Linked DNA regions of Homo sapiens: region 1 is linked to region 2. Evidence: promoter capture Hi-C in 16 types of primary human blood cells and fetal thymus (Javierre and others, 2016). All regions are on one chromosome and are shown on one strand. The core of a region is centred on a gene start or on the middle of the fragment in contact, and the rest is flanking DNA. Distances in the headings are between cores, read along the strand shown. Region 1 holds the start of RUVBL1-AS1 (RUVBL1 antisense RNA 1). Region 2 holds the start of HMCES (5-hydroxymethylcytosine binding, ES cell specific).

Region 1 (4,815 bases), core at 554-3,053, 1.2 Mb after region 2:
ATCCTGGGTGAGGCTCAGCTAGGGCTGAGGCAGCCAGAGGGGGCGAAATGACCACCCCCTTGTCCCAGCCAGTGCTGGTGTTTGTCAGGTCAGACCTGCTCTCATTTGGTGTCTGGGAAAGAGGTCCCTCGGGAGGTAGAACAGTGTTCACCCCCTTCATCCGTGGTCATCCATTCATTCTCCACACAGAAGTTCCTCTTTCTTGCTTCCTCCAGTATGCAGCCACTCCCCTTCCATTTGTTCTGGGGAGAGCAGGCCATAAGAGGATAGGGGGTGAGGGAGGCCTGGGCAGGGGGGCTGGGGAGCTTAGGGTGCAGGGCGGGCCACGCAGCAGGGCCCCGGAACTGTGAAGGGGTGGGCCGGCCACGGGGGCTGCCTGTCGTCCCCTGCTGCCCTGCCGCCCCTCCCGTCACTTGGCGGCAGGCACGGTGATTAATGGCCAGGCCGTGCGGGCTGGGCGGCCATCAGCGCGCGTCTCGGCGACGGATGCGGCTGTCAGGCCGGCCCGGCCCGCGCTGACCCCCGGGCAGGGGCCCGGCGCGATCAATGGGCGGCGCGCAGCGGGCGGCGGCTGGGCCGCCGCGATAAGATGGGCCGATGGGCGCCTGCCGATTGCCCGCTCCGTCACCCGCCGTCACCGTCACCGTCACGCCGCCAGCACGCAGATCAGCGCCGTCAGCGCCGCGTGATTAATGGGGACGCCGGCAGCTGCGGGGAGGGCGCGGGCATGCGGACCCCGCACCCAGAGGGACATGGTGGGGTGCGGGGTGCGGGCTGGGACGCCGCACACGGCACGCTGCACTTACACTGGAGCCGCATGCAGGGAACGGGGGACACGGCGGGATGCGGGCTGCAGGTCTGGGGCACACGGCGCAGGTTTTCACGGGGCTGCGCGCGCGCGTGTGTATGTAGTGGGTGGAGGTCCCGGTGCCACCGTGACACAAGGGCCTGAGTGACTTAGGCCTGAGGGGTGGGGGGAGGAGGGACCACACCTACTGTGACCTCCCCACCGCGATCCCTGCCTGGCCTAGGCCTCAGCCACCAGGTCCACCAGCCTCTTCGGTCTTTGCAAGCCTGCCCACTGTCCCAACCATCTTTGAGAACCCAGACTAGACGGTCAGGACCCCGACCCAAAACCCTTCCACAGGTCCCATGGCTAAATCCCAGGTTCCCCACCCTCCCGGCAGGCCCGCAGGAATGCCGGCCCCGCCTCTCCATGCCGGCCGCCCCCCTGTGCTCCTTTAGCTGTCATCGCAAGTGGTCCCGTCCCCCAGAGCTTCGTCCCTGGGTCGGGTCATGCTGTTGGGGACGCCCTGAGCGCTCTCAGCGCACCGTTGGCCCTGCTCGCTCCCCACCGGGTGAGGAGGGCAAGAGCCGGCTTCCCACCCCCCTCCTCCGCGCCAGAGCGCACAAATCCCCACTCGAAGCGACCTGCCTCTGAGGCACTGCCCCTCCAGAATAGCGCTGGTCCGCCGGGACCCACTCGGAACTCGGGAATCGGGAGGGAGAGGCTCGCCCAACCCAAATACCCACATGCCGCCAGGGAGGAGCCGTGTGCCAGGTGTGCAGAGAGGGGGCCGGAGGGCTTCCCAATGCCAGTGACAGGAGCGCAGCAGGGACAGCCGGGCGCGAGTGTGGGACTGACCCGAAGTCCGAACTGCCAAGGAGAGCGAGACGAGGGGAAGGGGGGGGCCCCGGCTGGGTGGACTGGGGCCTATCCCGTGGGCAGTGGGGATCTCAGGGCCAAGCGGCAGCGGAGGCAGGACCAGCCACTCTCACTTTTCCCCTCGAAAACCACAGCGTTCCAGGGCCGCGAGGCACCCCGCGGGAGCTTGCGAGGACACAGCGCCCCCGTGTGGGCGGACGCGCACAGAGTCGCGCCCGTGGCGTTTCGGGCCCAGGCTCCGCCCCCGCCGCGCTGCCCCTCCCCCCATGGGGGCGTGGCCAGGCCTAGCCCAGGGATCCGAGATTCCAAGTCACACCCAGCACGACTTGGGAAGTCGCGACGAAAGTGCGCGACTTCCCAGCAAGCGAGGTTGAAGTCCCGGCAGGCAGGGAGGAAGGCGTGTGTCCCCCCGTGCATGCGGGGAAGGAGCAGTGGGGGAAGGCTGAGTTGGGCTTTCAATTAAAAAAAATGTGCATACACTTAGTTTTTTGATGCAAAATTGCCAAAGGCGTGTACCGTGAAAACCTACCTCGACACCTGCCCCCTGCCTCCTGTTCCCTTTCCGGAAGCGCCTGCCTTACACCGGTGTGTTCCTCTAGAGATGGCCAGGACCTGGGTGAGGCAGCACACACTCACAGGACCTTCCCAACACTCATTATGAAACATATCACATGGAAAACTGCAAGAATTACAGGCAATCGCCTCTCAGCCTTTGGCTAAGATCAAGTGTAGTGTTCTTATCACTTTAATATCTGCTATCTGAGGACAGTATGTTAAATGGATTTTTGGAGCAGGGAGATGGAATAGGACCTTGCTCTTTCCACTCCATGCATCCACCTGGTATTGCAGTACCTCCAGGAATAGTGCACCCCCTTTGGGGGAATAAAAAAAAAGGATTGCAGGTGAGCCCCCATATCCCTGTCATCTAGGCACTGCACTGCCCATCCCCCTGTCTGCCTGCCAGTCAGTCTTGTCAGTCTTCTGTGCATTTCAAAGTGAGTTGCAGATACAACAACCTCTGTAAATAGTTAAGCATGTGTATAATTATCTAGAGTTCAGTACTTGATTATGGTTTTTTAAGTTTTTTTTTTTTTTTTTTTTTTTGAGACGGAGTTTCGCTCCTGTTGCCCAGGCTGGAATGCAATGGCGCCATCTCAGCTTACTGCAACCACCGCCTCCCGGGTTCAAGTGATTCTCCTGCCTCAGCCTCCCAAGTAGCTGGGATTATAAGCGCATGCCACCACACCCAGCTAATTTTGTGTTTTTAGTAGAGATGGGGTTTCTCCATGTTGGTCAGGCTGGTCTTGAACTCCTGACCTCAGGTGATCCACCTGCTTTGGCCTCCCACAGTGCCAGAATTACAGGCATGAGCCACTGTGCCCGGCTGCTTATGGTTATTTTTAAACGTTAAAAATACAGTGAAATGTACAAATCCTAAGTGGAGCACTCCATGAGTTCTGACTAATGAAACCCAAATCCCAGTGAAGGATATTACTATTGCCCAGAAAGTTCCTTGTGCCAATCTCTAACACACTAGAGGCAACCACTGTTAGAATTTTTTTTTTTTTTGCAATAGATTAGGTTTTCCTGCTCTAGAATTTCATGTAAATGGCATCATACAACATGACTTGTTTCTTTCACTTAGCTTTTGAGCTCCTGAATGTTGTGTGTATGGATAGTTTATTTTTTATTGCTGGGTAAAATGCCACCCTGTGGATCCACCACATGTATCCATTTGCCTGTTGATGGCCACCTAGGCTGTTCCCTATTTTTCAGCTATTATGAACATTCTTGTACAAGTCTTTGTATAGGCATATATTTTCATCTTGGGTTTCAATACCCAGGAGTAGAATAGCTGGGTGTAGGGTAAGTGTATGTCTAGTTTTATGGGAAATTGCTACACCTTTTCCTGATGTAGTCTATTAGTCACTTCCTACCCCCCTTTTAAACACAAATGGTAGCATACGCTATTGTTTCTTGCTTTCTGTATTCTTCCTTGACAGCATATCTTGGAGATTCTTCTAACTCAACATATAAAGAATGTCCTCCTAGTTCCTTTCCACAGGGAGGAGCTGCTGTAATTTATTCAGCCCCCTCCGATGGGCATTTAGATGTTTCTAGCCTTATTGAGCTGTGCTTTGAAGGATGAACAGGAGCTTGTCAGGCAGACAGCAGAGGGAACAAGGCCCACAGGTTTGACAGACACTGCAGAACCCTTACTGCTGGGGCATGAGCTTTTAAGAGGAGAGGCACCTTCTGTTCCATTTCCCCATGAGGCTCAATAATGTTTGCTGAGTGGAAAGGAGTGGGTAATGTGGCCCTAGAAGGGATTGGGGCAGGGGAGTGAGGTGGGCACTACCACTTAGGGGCACACCTGGCTCTCCAGAACCAGGCATTGGTAGGTGCTGAAGCTCAGGTTGGGGCTTTTGCTGACTCTCGGACAGTGCCACATGCCCATCCCCTGGCCCTCATCAGGAATCCGTTGCTCTTCCCCAGGCCATGGGGCTCAGACCCCTCAGAAATGAGATGGGAGGCTCATCCCAGCCTTCCTGAGGACTTCATGCTGGCCTGGCTTCAGCAGGAGCAGGCTGGGGGCGGGGTATGGGGTAGGGCATCAGCAGGTCCAGGGAGGCAGTGGTAAAGCAGCACCATGGATGGAGCGGAGTGCCAGTTGAAGCGGGTGCTGCCCCTGAGCCAAGGGCAGCAAGGGGAAGCTCCGGGGGTGGGGCCTGTTTCCCTAGACTCCTCATTCCTTGCCCCAGCTACGTCCCTAGCAGAAGTACCTGCAGGCAGGACCAGCAGCCAGACAGGGACTTGGAGTAGGAAGTGAGCCTTAGGCTTTTTGTCCTGGCTCGGGAGCTAAGTGACTTTTGGCCACACTCTATTTCCCTGGGCCTCAGTTTCTTCACCTGTAAAATGGACGGACTTGTTTCCTCCTGGGCCTCTAGTGGGGTGAAGTGAGAGCACATGTAGGAAGTGGCTGGGACAGTGCCTGCCCCAAGGGAAAAAGCAGAGTAAGCCTTACCCCCCCATCACTGTGCATTAGTTCCCTGTGCATGGGGAGGAGCCAGGTGGAGAGACACCAGGGCCTGCCATCTTGAAGCGTGCGTGGCTGCTGGAATGTGGGCTCCGTTTGCTCTCAGGCAAGA
Region 2 (4,422 bases), core at 564-3,063:
AGACAAACACAAAAAGATTGAAAACACAAGCAGAAAGAATAAAACTTTTCAATGCTCAAGAAACATCAGAAGTGTTTTAAATTAACTGATCTTAAGCCTGTCCTAGGCCTAGAGAAGTCTGATTAAGCTGGCCTGGTAAAGGGCATAGAAATATTCTTAAATTTTTTATTTTTTTAAATTTTTTCTTTAGGCAGGGTCTTGATCTGTCACCCAGGTGGGAGTGCAGTGGTACAACCATGGCTCATGAAGCCTCGACCTCCCCAGCTCAAGTGATCTTCCCACCTCATTTTTTTATTTTTTGTAGAGATGGGGTCTCCCTATGTTGCCCAGGCTGGTCTCCAACTCCTAGGCTCAAGTGATCCTCCCACCTCGGCTTCCCAAAGTGCTGGGGTTACAGGCATGAGCCATGGCACCTGGCCTTAAATTTTTTTATTATATTTTTAAGATACTCCAATGACCCTGATGATCAGTGAAAGCTGCTATTTTAAAACACAAAGCTCATATAAATTTGGCATATATTAAGGCTAGTATGCCATGTATAGCAAAGGCATTTAAATTGAGCCTGAAAAATACGTCTTTATCAGTGTTAGAAGCCACTGATAAAACTTCTTTCATGAGGCCAAGAGAGGTTCTCAACTGGAAGTCAGAATATATCAGTAAAGGCTGGTTTTTAATGTCATCCCAAGAGGCTGAGCACACACCAAACCAAATAGGAGATGACCATCACGAGGCTGGGCGAGGGGCTAGCATAGTGCAATGCTGGTTACCTTCTCAAAGTGCAGTCGAGACAGAAGCACTGGGCTGTTGGATTGAGGACTCTTGTTGTAAGAGGGGCAGTACTTATCAGGGTCCCTCCACTCCGGGAGCCGCTGCTGGCCCCGCCGATCCTGGTAGGCGCAAGCTCTCGTGAGAACATCTCTAGGTAAGTGACAGGATGTTCGCCCACACATTCTTCAACACCGCCCCTCGCAACCTTTAAATTACAAAACGTAAGGAAAAGGCTTACGTATCTCAAATATTAGGTCTTATTCCTTGAGTCCCCGCCTTCTCTTTCCGTTCCCACAGGGCCGTGCCCCTCCGTGACCACCGTCTAAAGTCTTCCCCAAAAAGTCCCACAAAGACAAGGATGTGCCCGTTTGCTTCGCTCCCTGAGCCCACTGCCCAGCTCCGTGCAGGGCACTGAGGCAAGTCCCGAGAGGAGCTCTGCAAATGCCTGCCTGAGCGCAGGAAGAGCCGCAGCGGAGGGGGCTTCACAGTCCAGCGAAGCAGGGCAAGCGCAGCTAGCTGGGGTCGCCTCCTCCGGGTGACTTGGTGCCCCCAACTCCCCGTCCTTCCCCCCAGTCCCCGCTGGGGTCAGCGACCCACGCCGGCCAGCAACCGGTCACCTCGAGGGCGGCCACTGGACGGCCCGGGGCCGGGGTGCAGAATCCCCGCCTCCCGCCCGCTAGTCCGCAGCGTCCCCGGGCCCGACCTGCGAACCTGTGGGCCGCGGATCCCGCTCCGGACTCTGCTCCCCGGAGCGGGGGCCGGTGCTCGGGGAGCAGGTGGCCCCCAGCCACCGGCCGCGATCCCTCGCCCCTCCCCGCGTCGCCTCCGCTCCGCTCCGGCCCTCAGACTCCGCCGCCCCGCGTCGCCTCACTTCGGCCCAGGCCGCCCTCTCCGCGTCGCCTCGCGTCCGCTCGGGCCTCTGCTCCCCTCTGTCAGCTCGCGTCGCTTCCTTTCCCCTCCCCTCCCCTCGCCATACCCCGACCGCCCGCGTCGCCTCCCCTCCCCTCACCTCGCCCCGGCAGCGCGCGTCACCTCCCTCGACTCTCCTCACCCCCGCTCCGCTCCGCTTTGGCCACCCGCGTCACCGCCCCTCACGTCAGCCCCGCCTCAGCCCGCGCTCCCGGCGCCAGGCCCCGCCCCCAAGGGCCCTTGGTTCCCGCGGTGCCCTCGGGCCCCGGAGGCGGCGTCTTCTCCCCTCCGGTTTGGGATGAATTTTCTCCCGTTTCCCCAGGAGACAGTGACTGCCTTGGGAGACATATCGATCCCAAGCTTCTCGGGACTCCACTTTCCTCCATATTGGCCGTTCCCTGGCGGGGTTAACCTTCCTCCCCGCCCCCAGCGTGTTTCAGGGCTGGCAGGGAAGGTTCCCGCCGCGCTGAGTCTAGGGCACAGGGTCATGGAAGGCGGGAAACCAGGAAACTCCACTCCTTACTTCACAGTCCTGCCAGCTGCCTCACAGTGCGAGGCAAAAATGGAGGAACACTGAAGAAATGAAAGTCAGAAGAACTTCCAGGAATCGCGCACTTCGCCCTCAAACATTGGTGGGCACTAGAATAAGCCTTTCCTGCCCCAGCCCCTCAGCTGAATCTCTAAGGGTGAGGCCCAGATTTTTAAAACAGCCCTTTCGGGTGTACTTTGGCCTCAAAGTTGGTAAAATAGCCTGGCTTGAGTTTAAAAGCCTGCTCCCCTTGGGACCTAAACCGGAGATTCTTCATCTGCAACCAACAGAGAATGCTCTAGAGGGCTGTTCGCCTATGCTGATTCGCTGAACTGAACAGGGAGCAGAAACCCCAGGGCACACTCCATGTAAGACCAGATGCTGGAACGATCAGACACAGGACCCAAGCCCTTTGGAGCCTCCATTTATCGACTATCAAAGGAGGATGCGTTGTGAAGAAGCACGAACGGGAGGGAGTGTGAACTCTGCCTGTTAGCTGATTCACTCAACCACCCTCTACCGCTCCCACCCCTGGGCTTGGTGCTGGGACAGCGATGACGGGGAGAGGGTCCTGCCTCACAGGACTACAACAGCCAAAGGGCTGTGGGTGCAAGGGGGACAGGGCAGGTGTTCTGCCTCTTTAGGGGAGGCCTTGAAGGGGAAGGTGGAGCCCTGAAGCATGAGTCTGCAGAAGTAGCAATCATTCAATAAATACATGCTGATTTATTACAGGGATAAGATGGTTTCTTGGGGGATAGATTCAAGAGGAGTTGAGAATGTTTTATTCATTTACAATGTCCCTTTCCTGGAAGGGTGGACAGCAAGATTTAGGACAAGCTAAAATCATCCCCTATTTAAAAAAAAAAAAAAAAAAAGTCACCAGCAAGTAGTCCCGGGTGGGAGGTGGGAGCAGAATAAAAAAAAATCTGCAATGATTCCTAATTGTTTTTCAATACAGAAGCTTGGGAAGGGGTTTCTGCCAGTTTCATGAGGAAGGCACAACTTCCAGGTAGTGTTGGGGAAGGGTATGAGGTCCTATGCAGGCTGGCCTCTTATCCCACAGATGCCAAGATGATGTCTACTGGCAGCTCCTCCAAACTTCTGGCTGTCACCTGCATTGTCACTGTGTCCAAAAGCAGCAGCCGGGAGCGCACCAGGATGTCATGACCACCCCGGAACACACCTAGAAGGGAAGAGAGAAGTACAGATATATACAGCAGAAGGGACTGTACAGGGCAGGCTAAGGATGGCATTTGCAGCAACCCATGAAGGCAGCTCTGGTGTAGTGAAACGGGCAGGAGAGCTGGGCTGAAATCCCTGAGTGAGGGATTTCACTGTGAAAGTCACTGTCTCTCAGCCAGGCGCGGTGGCTCACGCTTGTAATTCCAGCACTTTGGGAGGCTGAGGTGGGCAGATCATGAGGTCAGGAATTCGAGACCAGCCTGGCCAACACAGTGAAACCCCATCTCTACTAAAAATACGAAAATTAGCTGGGCATGGTGGTGGACGCCTGTAATCCCAGCTACTCGGGAGGCTGAAGCAGGAGAATCGCTTGAACCCGGGAGGCGGAGGTTGCAGCGAGCAGAGATTGTGCCACTGCATGCCAGCCTGGGTGACAGAGCTAGACTCCGTCTCAAAAAAAAAAAAAAAAAAGAAAGTCACTGTCTCTCAGGACTTCAGTATCCTCAACTACAAAGTGGCAGGGATGATAATACCATATTTCAGGCTTCTGCTAAGTTCAAATGAACTGATGGACATAAAAGGCTTATATCTCATGTCACAGAGGCTCTTGCACGTTGACTGAATCTGAGAGCACAAATGAAGGGGACAGCCCCACCACGAGAAAACCACAGGGCAGGTGTCTGCAAGACCCAGGGGACTAGGTTGTTTCAATGTGGCTACAAACTGTCAGCTGTAGGCAGGGTACTGAAGCAGAGCCTCCTTTCAACCCTGTTTATAAACACTCAGCCAAAAAAAATCATCCCATTTCCTTTTGTTAACTGTTTTAGGTATGATAATTGTATTGTCCTTTAAAAAAGGGAAGGGGTCATTCTCTCTTAGAGAAACATACAGATACAGGATTTACATATAAAATGCTATTTCTGGAGTTTGCTAGTAAATAATCTGGGAAGGAGAATGAGTGTGGGTACACTCAGCCAACCCTGTAGAAAATAAGACAAAGGATATGAAGACAATGATCAGAAAAGGAAATACAA

Evidence for each region. Contacts are between HindIII fragments. The CHiCAGO score rates a contact against its expected background, and 5 or more counts as called.
Region 1: a contact is called between the fragment with the promoter of RUVBL1-AS1 here and the fragment with the promoter of HMCES in region 2, in 2 of 17 cell types (neutrophils and naive CD8 T cells). The highest score is 6.1, in neutrophils.

Annotation. Positions count from the first base shown.
Region 1 is chr3:128,072,798-128,077,612 of GRCh38, reverse strand. It overlaps RUVBL1-AS1 (RUVBL1 antisense RNA 1), which reads right to left and starts at 1,803. Exons shown (of 2, transcript NR_046645.1): 1 at 1,534-1,803. It also overlaps a transcript of RUVBL1 not described here and the pseudogene RNU2-37P. RefSeq lists silencers at 206-305, 1,647-2,086, 2,097-2,146. The HindIII fragment of the contact is 15,687 bases long and covers 1-4,815 here.
Region 2 is chr3:129,276,261-129,280,682 of GRCh38, reverse strand. HMCES (5-hydroxymethylcytosine binding, ES cell specific) reads right to left here and starts at 1,813. Exons shown (of 7, transcript NM_020187.3): 1 at 1,778-1,813; 2 at 768-973. The coding sequence starts at 950. COPG1 (coat protein complex I subunit gamma 1) reads right to left here. Exons shown (of 24, transcript NM_016128.4): 24 at 2,910-3,389. The coding sequence ends at 3,259. RefSeq lists an enhancer at 659-788 and silencers at 1,209-1,598, 1,609-1,958. The HindIII fragment of the contact is 5,702 bases long and covers 1-2,039 here.